Regions from separate parts of the Homo sapiens genome. Here region 2 is linked to region 1. Evidence: promoter capture Hi-C in 16 types of primary human blood cells and fetal thymus (Javierre and others, 2016). All regions are on one chromosome and are shown on one strand. The core of a region is centred on a gene start or on the middle of the fragment in contact, and the rest is flanking DNA. Distances in the headings are between cores, read along the strand shown. Region 1 holds the start of IPO4 (importin 4). Region 2 overlaps RAB2B (RAB2B, member RAS oncogene family).

Region 1 (4,267 bases), core at 358-2,857:
CTACTGTCATCCACATGACTGTTGGAGGCTTCCTGCCTTTCAGGTATCCTCCCTTTATTCCATGGCTATTACTGTCAGGTTCCTGACCTCAATTTTTCCTGTCCCTACTCATCCAGTACCCTAACCCAACCCGTTGATCCCTGGTTCAGTGGTACCATTCAGAGATCATTAAATGGTTCCTCCTATCCCCAAGCAGGACTGAGCTTGAATGATATGAGAGTGTCTCACTTATAAAGCTCTCCGGAGACATTTCCCCCTTCACCTTCCTGGTTTCTGACTTTAATGCCTATGGACATCATGTGGGGTTTAAAGCCCATTTGATGACCCATTTACTTTGTTGAATACCTCTTTGTGCCAGGCAAAGAATAAAGTGGAATAAAATGGACAAGATCCCTGCCCTCAATCTATTAGGGAAGATATTCTTGAAGTGAGAGCGGCTAATCATAGGCAAAAAATCCCCATGAAGCCAGGAGATCTGGGGCAGAGAGTGGAGTGAACTCACTTTTCACAATGACCCAGCAACATGGGAGAGGGTGGGGGCTGGATTTCAGCCCAGCCACTGTGCTGATGGTGCACAGCCCTTTAATGCTGTGTATCATCTCTTTTCTTCACAGTGCCATCTCTGTGGAGCTGTACTACATCTTTGCCACAGTATGGGGTCGGGAGCAGTACACTTTGTACGGCATCCTCTTCTTTGTCTTCGCCATCCTGCTGAGTGTGGGGGCTTGCATCTCCATTGCACTCACCTACTTCCAGTTGTCTGGGGAGGATTACCGCTGGTGGTGGCGATCTGTGCTGAGTGTTGGCTCCACCGGCCTCTTCATCTTCCTCTACTCAGTTTTCTATTATGCCCGGCGCTCCAACATGTCTGGGGCAGTACAGACAGTAGAGTTCTTCGGCTACTCCTTACTCACTGGTTATGTCTTCTTCCTCATGCTGGGCACCATCTCCTTTTTTTCTTCCCTAAAGTTCATCCGGTATATCTATGTTAACCTCAAGATGGACTGAGTTCTGTATGGCAGAACTATTGCTGTTCTCTCCCTTTCTTCATGCCCTGTTGAACTCTCCTACCAGCTTCTCTTCTGATTGACTGAATTGTGTGATGGCATTGTTGCCTTCCCTTTTGCCCTTTGGGCATTCCTTCCCCAGAGAGGGCCTGGAAATTATAAATCTCTATCACATAAGGATTATATATTTGAACTTTTTAAGTTGCCTTTAGTTTTGGTCCTGATTTTTCTTTTTACAATTACCAAAATAAAATTTATTAAGAAAAAGGCTCATGCAGTTGGAGGTTTTGGTCTGGATATAGGAACTCGAGCCCTGCTGTTAAGGGCACGGTCCTTTATAAAGCCGAGCTGGCCACTGAATGCCCGAAGCTCGAGTTCTCCAACCCAGCTTGGGAACTCCCGGCGTGGGGAACCTACATTGCCAGAGTCGGGTTTCCGCGATTCAGCCGGTGCTCAGCCTAACGGAAGTGGAGGAGCCGGACCTCTTTGTGGGAAGCGAATTGAATCACCTTGGCAACCCGCGGGGCGTGCAGCAACGCCCTTTCCTCCGGAAGTGGGTGTCAGAACCTCCACGTGCTGTCCCTCCCCCTCCCCTTTTCGGCCCAGTAGCGGCGGCTCAGTTGCTGCCATGGAGTCAGCCGGGCTAGAGCAGCTCCTACGGGAGCTGCTGCTACCGGACACCGAGCGCATCCGTCGGGTACGGAGCAGGCGTAACCGGGCCAGGGCGAGCGGGAGGTTGCGGGAAAGGCCCAACTCTCACCCCTAGCTTCCCCCCAGGCCACGGAACAGCTCCAGATCGTTCTTCGGGCCCCCGCCGCTTTGCCGGCTCTCTGCGACCTGCTAGCCTCGGCGGCCGACCCCCAGGTGAGACCCCTGACTCTCCCCTCCGAGCTTCCCACTGTACGCCACCGGTCAAGCCCCAGTATTCGCCCACTGCGGTCCGCTCAGCACCTTCCTGCCCGGACCCCCACGTGCTTGCTTCCTCGTCCTAGATCCGCCAGTTTGCGGCCGTGCTGACCCGCAGACGACTGAACACCCGCTGGCGACGGCTGGCGGCGGAGCAACGGGAGAGGTGGGCTGGGCCTGGGGTGGGGCGGGGCCAGGCGGAGACTTTTCTTGGGCAGGCTGGGTACCAAACACCTGCCACCTGTGTTCCAGCCTCAAGTCCCTGATCCTGACGGCCCTGCAGAGAGAAACAGAGTAAGTACCTACCCACTTCTCTCGGGATCTTGACGACTTTGTCTAGGTTTCTGCCTTCCTTTTCGGCTCCAGGCTGGGACTTGTGGGGCAGGGACTTCAGTTCTAGACGCAAGGTGGAGTGAGGATTTTAAGGCTGTTTTGAAGACTAAAGTTCTTGAGGAAGGGTGATGATGATCTGCCAAACCCAAGTCAGAAGAATAAGACTGAAATTCAGGCTAAGTTAGACTGAACTTACCAGATTACATGCCCACAGTGCTGTTGGGCTCCCTCTGAGCTGCTGTCTCATGTGTCCCAACTTGGCAAAGACCCTGTGCCCACACCTCCTGAAAGTTTCTGTCCTGGCTGCCCCATTGAGCCTGGCCACTGTGTGCAGAGGAAGGTATTGAAGGGTGATTGGAGGAGATCTCTCCTGTTTGCAGGCACTGTGTGAGCCTCAGCCTGGCCCAGCTCTCAGCCACCATTTTTCGAAAGGAAGGCTTGGAGGCCTGGCCACAGCTTTTGCAGCTGCTTCAGCACAGTACCCACAGCCCCCACAGCCCAGAGAGAGAGGTACCATCACATGGTTGGCAGGAGGGAGGGCCTGAGAGGCTGGATAGACCTTGTAAGCTTGCTCTCCCATCCTCTATTCTTGGACAGATGGGGCTTTTGCTGCTAAGTGTGGTGGTGACCTCCCGGCCCGAGGCCTTCCAACCCCACCACCGGGAGCTTCTTCGGCTTCTGAATGAGACTCTTGGTGAGGTGGGCTCTCCTGGGCTGCTCTTCTACTCCCTGCGCACTCTGACCACCATGGCTCCCTACCTCAGCACTGAAGATGTGGTGAGATGTGGGCCCTCGTTATCTTTGACTCCCTTTCCTCATGCCTTCATGTCCTCACCCGTAAAAGTTACAAAGCTGCTTTGGATTCTTTACCTGCCTGTGGCCCTTCCTGACAATTGAGAGGGGATGCTGTAGGTGGGCCTGGCTGTTATGCCTGGGCTCCTCCTCGCAATTCAGGCTGTGAGGAAGCTGCCAGCTGCTGGGGTGTGAGATTGGGCTGCATCATGCTCTCTGTGATGTGTCCCTCAGCCTCTCGCTCGGATGTTGGTGCCCAAGCTGATCATGGCCATGCAGACTCTGATCCCCATAGATGAGGTGAGGACAGGTGGGCAGGAGCTCTGTTGGAAGGAGAGTGCAGAAGTGTCCAGTTTGGCCCACTGAAGAAGAGCATGGTAACCTTGTGCCTTGTTTGTCTGTCAGGCAAAGGCCTGTGAGGCCCTTGAGGCTTTGGATGAACTGTTGGAGTCAGAGGTGCCGGTCATCACCCCCTACCTCTCTGAAGTCCTCACATTCTGCCTGGAGGTGAGCCTGGAGTGGACATGGCCCCTGCTACATGCTCTGCTGGGACTCTCCTTCCCTGTCGCTGATTTTTATTATTCTGTGGACAGGTAGCTAGAAATGTGGCCCTGGGCAATGCGATACGCATACGTATTCTCTGCTGCCTCACTTTCTTGGTCAAAGTCAAGAGCAAGGTAAGTGAGTGCCCATTGACACACATCACCCCACCCCCATCTCCACCCTTAGTCTCACTCCTGGGGCTTTCGGTCCATCTCAGGGTATCTAAAGTACTGTGGGGGTTCAAGCCTTGGCCTGGCCTCACCCCAGCTCCTGCCTGGGAGGTTGGGAATTTTCTGTCAGACCCCTTATGGCCTGGAAGACTGGAATTTTTAATGTGAGCCCATCCTGGGAGCAGATTCTTAGGGACACTGTTCCACCTTCTCTGTCAAGGCCTTACTGAAGAATCGTCTCCTGCCACCCTTGCTGCACACCCTTTTCCCCATTGTGGCTGCTGAGCCCCCACCAGGCCAGTTGGATCCCGAGGACCAGGATTCAGAAGAGGAAGAGTTGGAGATTGAGCTGATGGGGGAGACTCCCAAGCATTTCGCTGTACAAGTGAGATGTGGGGCAGGACAGAGGGGGAAGGTGTTAGGTGGCTGTGGGACGTTGGGGAGGCAGAGATGGAGTCAAGCAAAGTAAGTCTCCCCATCCCATCTCAGGTTGTGGACATGCTGGCACTACACCTG
Region 2 (4,143 bases), core at 1,125-3,624, 2.7 Mb after region 1:
TCAGCCTCCTGAGTAGCCGGGATTACAGGCACCCACCACCACACGTGGCTAATGTTTTTTGTATTTTTTGTATTTTTTTTCTGAGACGGAGTCTTACTCTGTTGCCCAGGCTGGAGTGCAGTGGCGTGATCTCAGCTCACTGCAAGCTCCGCCTCCCGGGTTCGTGCCATTCTCCTGTCTCAGCCTCCCGAATAGCTGGGACTACAGGCGCCTGACACCACGCCTGGCTAATTTTTTGTATTTTTAGTAGAGAGGGGGTTTCACCGTGTTAGCCAGCATGGTCTCGATCTCCTGACCTCGTGATCCGCCCGCCTCAGCCTCCCAAAGTGCCGGGATTACAGGTGTGAGCCACCACTCCCGGACGTTTTTTGTATTTTTAATAGAGATGGGGTTTTGCCATGTTGGCCAGGCCGGTGTTGAACTGACCTCAGGTGATCCACCCACCTAGGCCTCTCAAAATGCTGGGATTACAGGCGTGAGCCACAGTGCCCAGCCTGAACATCCTTATTTACAAAGTTTTTATGCCAATGTTTGAGAATTTTTGTGGAATATCTGCCCAGAAATGGAAACTCTGTCAAAAGCTTGTACATATTTTCAAATTTGATACATGTAGTAATGCCAAAATTTAGCTTGGCTTAGTGTAGTTTTGCCCTATCCAGATAAATTGCTTTCATGTGCATTATCTCATTTGATTTGTACATTTTTCCCCCTAAGTAAAATAATACCTTAGTCTCCATTCTAGTTAAAGGGAGCTAGTAAATAGCTAGTAAATAATATTTGGCTAAAATCTCTTACTTTTTTTGCTTACTTCTTACTATGTGATTCTGTTTCTTCTCTGAACTGAGAGCTAAAGCCATTATATCTGCAAACAGTGTACACATTATTTTTCCTTTTTTCTTTTCCTCCCTTTCCTCTCCTTCCCTCCCCAATGCTCCTCACCACACGCAAGTGTATGTCTTAAAAGTAGTTGAAGCTTAAGTTCATCTGTCTATCCATCCATCTATCCGTCTATCTCTACAGATCTATCCCCTGATCCCCTGCACTGGGGAATTTTTGTATTTTTTGTAGAGACGGGGGTTTCAACATGTTTCCCAGGCTGGTCTCGAATTCCTGGACTCAAGTGATCCGCCCTCCTCAGCCTCCCAAAGTGTTGGGATTACAGGCCTGAGCCTTGGCACCTGGCCCAGATGAATGTTTTGATGCTGGGGAAAAAAACCCAATAAGTGCCATTTAATGGAATGGTCATGGCAATGGCCTTTTTTTTTTTTTTTTAAGCACTCATATGGGACATGGTTGGATCATGAAAGTAAGAAAGTTGAGAGCTTGATTCTGCTGAGAATGCATACATAGAAAAACAAACAAAAAAGGAAAGTTGAGAGCCACGACTTTGGACAGAATCCTTAAGAACTACATGGTCATCCAACTGGCCTAGTTCTTTTCTGTTCCCTCTTAAAATTGTCTTGAGATTAATATTTGCTAAATCATAAAAAGGAACCAGTTTCAGAACACTGTGGTTTTCTATATATTTTGAAAATTTTAAAAGATTCATACGTATAATAATGTGTCCATCTAGTCTGTCGCCTTTTGGGTAAGTCTGGTCATTTCTCCGTTGTCAGCCCTGATCTCCTGCCCATTGTTTACCCATCTTAGCTTCCCACTTTATTGACCCATTCTCTCACTTACTTCCAAACCCATCCTACATGAAAATGTTTAGGGATTACTGTGATAGGTATTTTAAAGAGATCAGGTTGTCCAAAGGTTTTTGTTGTCTTTGTTCTGGCATTTATGTGGATTTAGAGAAGCATATTTTAAAAAATCGTGTGTGTGTGTGTATACACGTATTCCTAAATAATCATGCTAATGAATAGGTATTTTACTGTAATATAAAATACTGATCAAATAATATCAAATTGGTTTGTATTTTACTTTGGAATGCAATTAAAATTTTTTTTTCCTTAATAAACCGTTCATTGGAAGGAATGCATTTTGATTCTTAGGAAAATGGTGTATCTGACTTTCTAGGAGTTGATACTTCAAACTGTATATCTTAATATAGTATGATGCTTCCACTTGGGAGAGATTAGAAAGCTATTAATTATCTTATCAAACCTTCATCTAGGCCGGGTGTCGTGGCTCATGCCTGTAATTCCAGCACTTTGGGAGGCTGAGGCAGGCGGATCACCTGAGGTCAGGAGTTTGAGACTAGCCTGGCCAACATGGTGAAACCCCATCTCTACTAAAAATAAAAAAATTAGCCAGGTGTGGTGGCGGGCGCCTGTAATGCCAGCTACTGGGGAGGCTGAGGCAGGAGAATCACTTGAACCTGGGAGGCGGAGGTTGCAGTGAGCCAAGATCATGCCACTGCACTCCAGCCTGGGCAACAGAGCGAGACTCCCTCTCAAAAAAAAAAAAGGAAAAAAAAACCTTCATCTTAGTTCGTTGCTGCTGCATCTTTTCTTTTCTTTTTTTTTTTTTTTTGACAGGGTCTTGCTCTGTCACCCAAGCTGGAGTGCAGTGGCACCATCTCCACTCATTGCACCCTCAACCTCCCCGGCTCAACTAGTCCTCCCACCTCAGCCCCTCAAGTAGCTGGGACTACAGATGTGTGCCATCACACCTGGCTAATTTTTTGTATTTTTTTTAGAGGCGTGGTTTCACCATGTTGCCCAGGCTGGTCTCAAACTCCTGAGCTCAAATGATCTGCCCACCTTGGCCTCCCAAAGTGCTGGGATTATAGGCATGACCCACGGTGCCCAGCCTGCTGCTTCAGATTTTTTTACTGGGGATGGCCAAGGATACCTGAGACTGATATAGACAAGACCAAATTGAACTGCTCACTCTTTCTAGCTTACTGGTTCACAAACTTTGGCTCATGAACTGGAATGAGATGAAGTAGAGTGATTTTTTTTTTTTTTTTAATTTAGACAGAGTCTCACTCTGTTGCCCAGGCTGGAGTGCAATAGCGCCATCTTGGCTTACTGCAGCCTCTGCCTCCCGGGCTCAAGCAGTTCTCCTGCCTTAGCCTCCTGAGTAGCTGGGATTACAGGCGTGCGCCACCACGCCCACCTATTTTTTTTTTTTTTTTTTTTTTTTTTTTTTTGTATTTTTAGCAGAGATGGGGTTTCATCATGTTGGTCAGGCTGGTCTCAAACTCCTGACCTCGTGATCTGCCCGCCTTGGCCTCCCAAAGTGCTGGGATTACAGGCATGAGCCACTGCGCCTGGTGAGTGATTTGATTTTAAAAGGTTTTCTCATGACCCACTGATAGCATTTTCAGCTGCTAAAGATAAATGCTGCCATGTGATTGAACCATCATGTGGGCCTCCCTCAAACTTTCCCTTTTAGTTCTTGGTAGGCTGTGAGGGAAGTAGAGGGAGGCTTACAACCATAGCAGAAGAGGAGAAAAAGTAAGTGCTAAAAGGAAAACAAGACCCAAATAACGTAAGACATTAGGGAGTAAATATAAAACTGTAAGTATTTTTTTAATCTTAAAATATTATTAGTATTATGACAGGGGACTTCAGAATTAGTTTTTATTTTCCGATTCTGATTCTCTAACAGCTATGCAACTCACTCACATGTTTCTATGATTCTTATAGAAAGAGATTCTTCTGTTGTTGGAAAATTAACCTTAGAGTTAGTATACTGGAATTCTCTTCTCACCTACAAACCCCAGTTTAGGTTATATGATATAGTGGCTAAGAGGACAAGTTTTTGTCCTAGGAAGTACTAAGATCCTAAGTTTAAATTATGGCTCTAGCACTTAATAAGCTTTATGATTTGGGGCCGTTTATTAAACTTGTGTGAGCCTCATTTTCCCCATTTTTAAAAGGAAATAATAAGCCAGGCACGGTGGCTCATGCCTGTAATCCCAGCACTTTGGGAGGCCGAGGCGGGTGGGTCATGAGGTCAGGAGTTCAAGACCAGCCTAGCCAACATAGTGAAAACCCATCTCTACCAAAAATACAAAAAAATTAGCCAGGCATGGTGGTGGGCGCCTGTAATCCCAGCTAATTGGGAGGCTGAAGCAAGGAGAATTGCTTGAACCTGGGAGGCGGAGGTTGCAGTGAGCCAAGATTGCGCCACTGCACTCCAGCCCGGGCAACAGAGCGAGACTCCCTCTCAAAAAAAAAAAGAAAAAAA

Evidence for each region. The method cuts DNA at HindIII sites, captures the fragments that hold promoters and counts their contacts. A CHiCAGO score of 5 or more calls a contact.
Region 2: a contact is called between a fragment that was not itself captured here and the fragment with the promoter of IPO4 in region 1, in 1 of 17 cell types (total B cells). The highest score is 6.8, in total B cells.

The regions. Positions count from the first base shown.
Region 1 is chr14:24,186,156-24,190,422 of GRCh38, reverse strand. IPO4 (importin 4) reads left to right here and starts at 1,607. Exons shown (of 30, transcript NM_024658.4): 1 at 1,607-1,704; 2 at 1,785-1,871; 3 at 2,000-2,079; 4 at 2,166-2,207; 5 at 2,627-2,756; 6 at 2,844-3,023; 7 at 3,273-3,338; 8 at 3,444-3,545; 9 at 3,632-3,715; 10 at 3,972-4,136; 11 at 4,241-4,267. The coding sequence starts at 1,636. TM9SF1 (transmembrane 9 superfamily member 1) reads left to right here. Exons shown (of 6, transcript NM_006405.7): 5 at 1-43; 6 at 615-1,274. The coding sequence ends at 1,008. RefSeq lists silencers at 2,036-2,155, 2,401-2,611. The HindIII fragment of the contact is 6,803 bases long and covers 1-2,815 here.
Region 2 is chr14:21,469,951-21,474,093 of GRCh38, reverse strand. All of the region lies in intron 3 of RAB2B (RAB2B, member RAS oncogene family), which reads left to right. Among named protein-coding and RNA genes, the nearest start is that of RAB2B, 4.9 kb to the left of the region's middle. The HindIII fragment of the contact is 2,798 bases long and covers 976-3,773 here.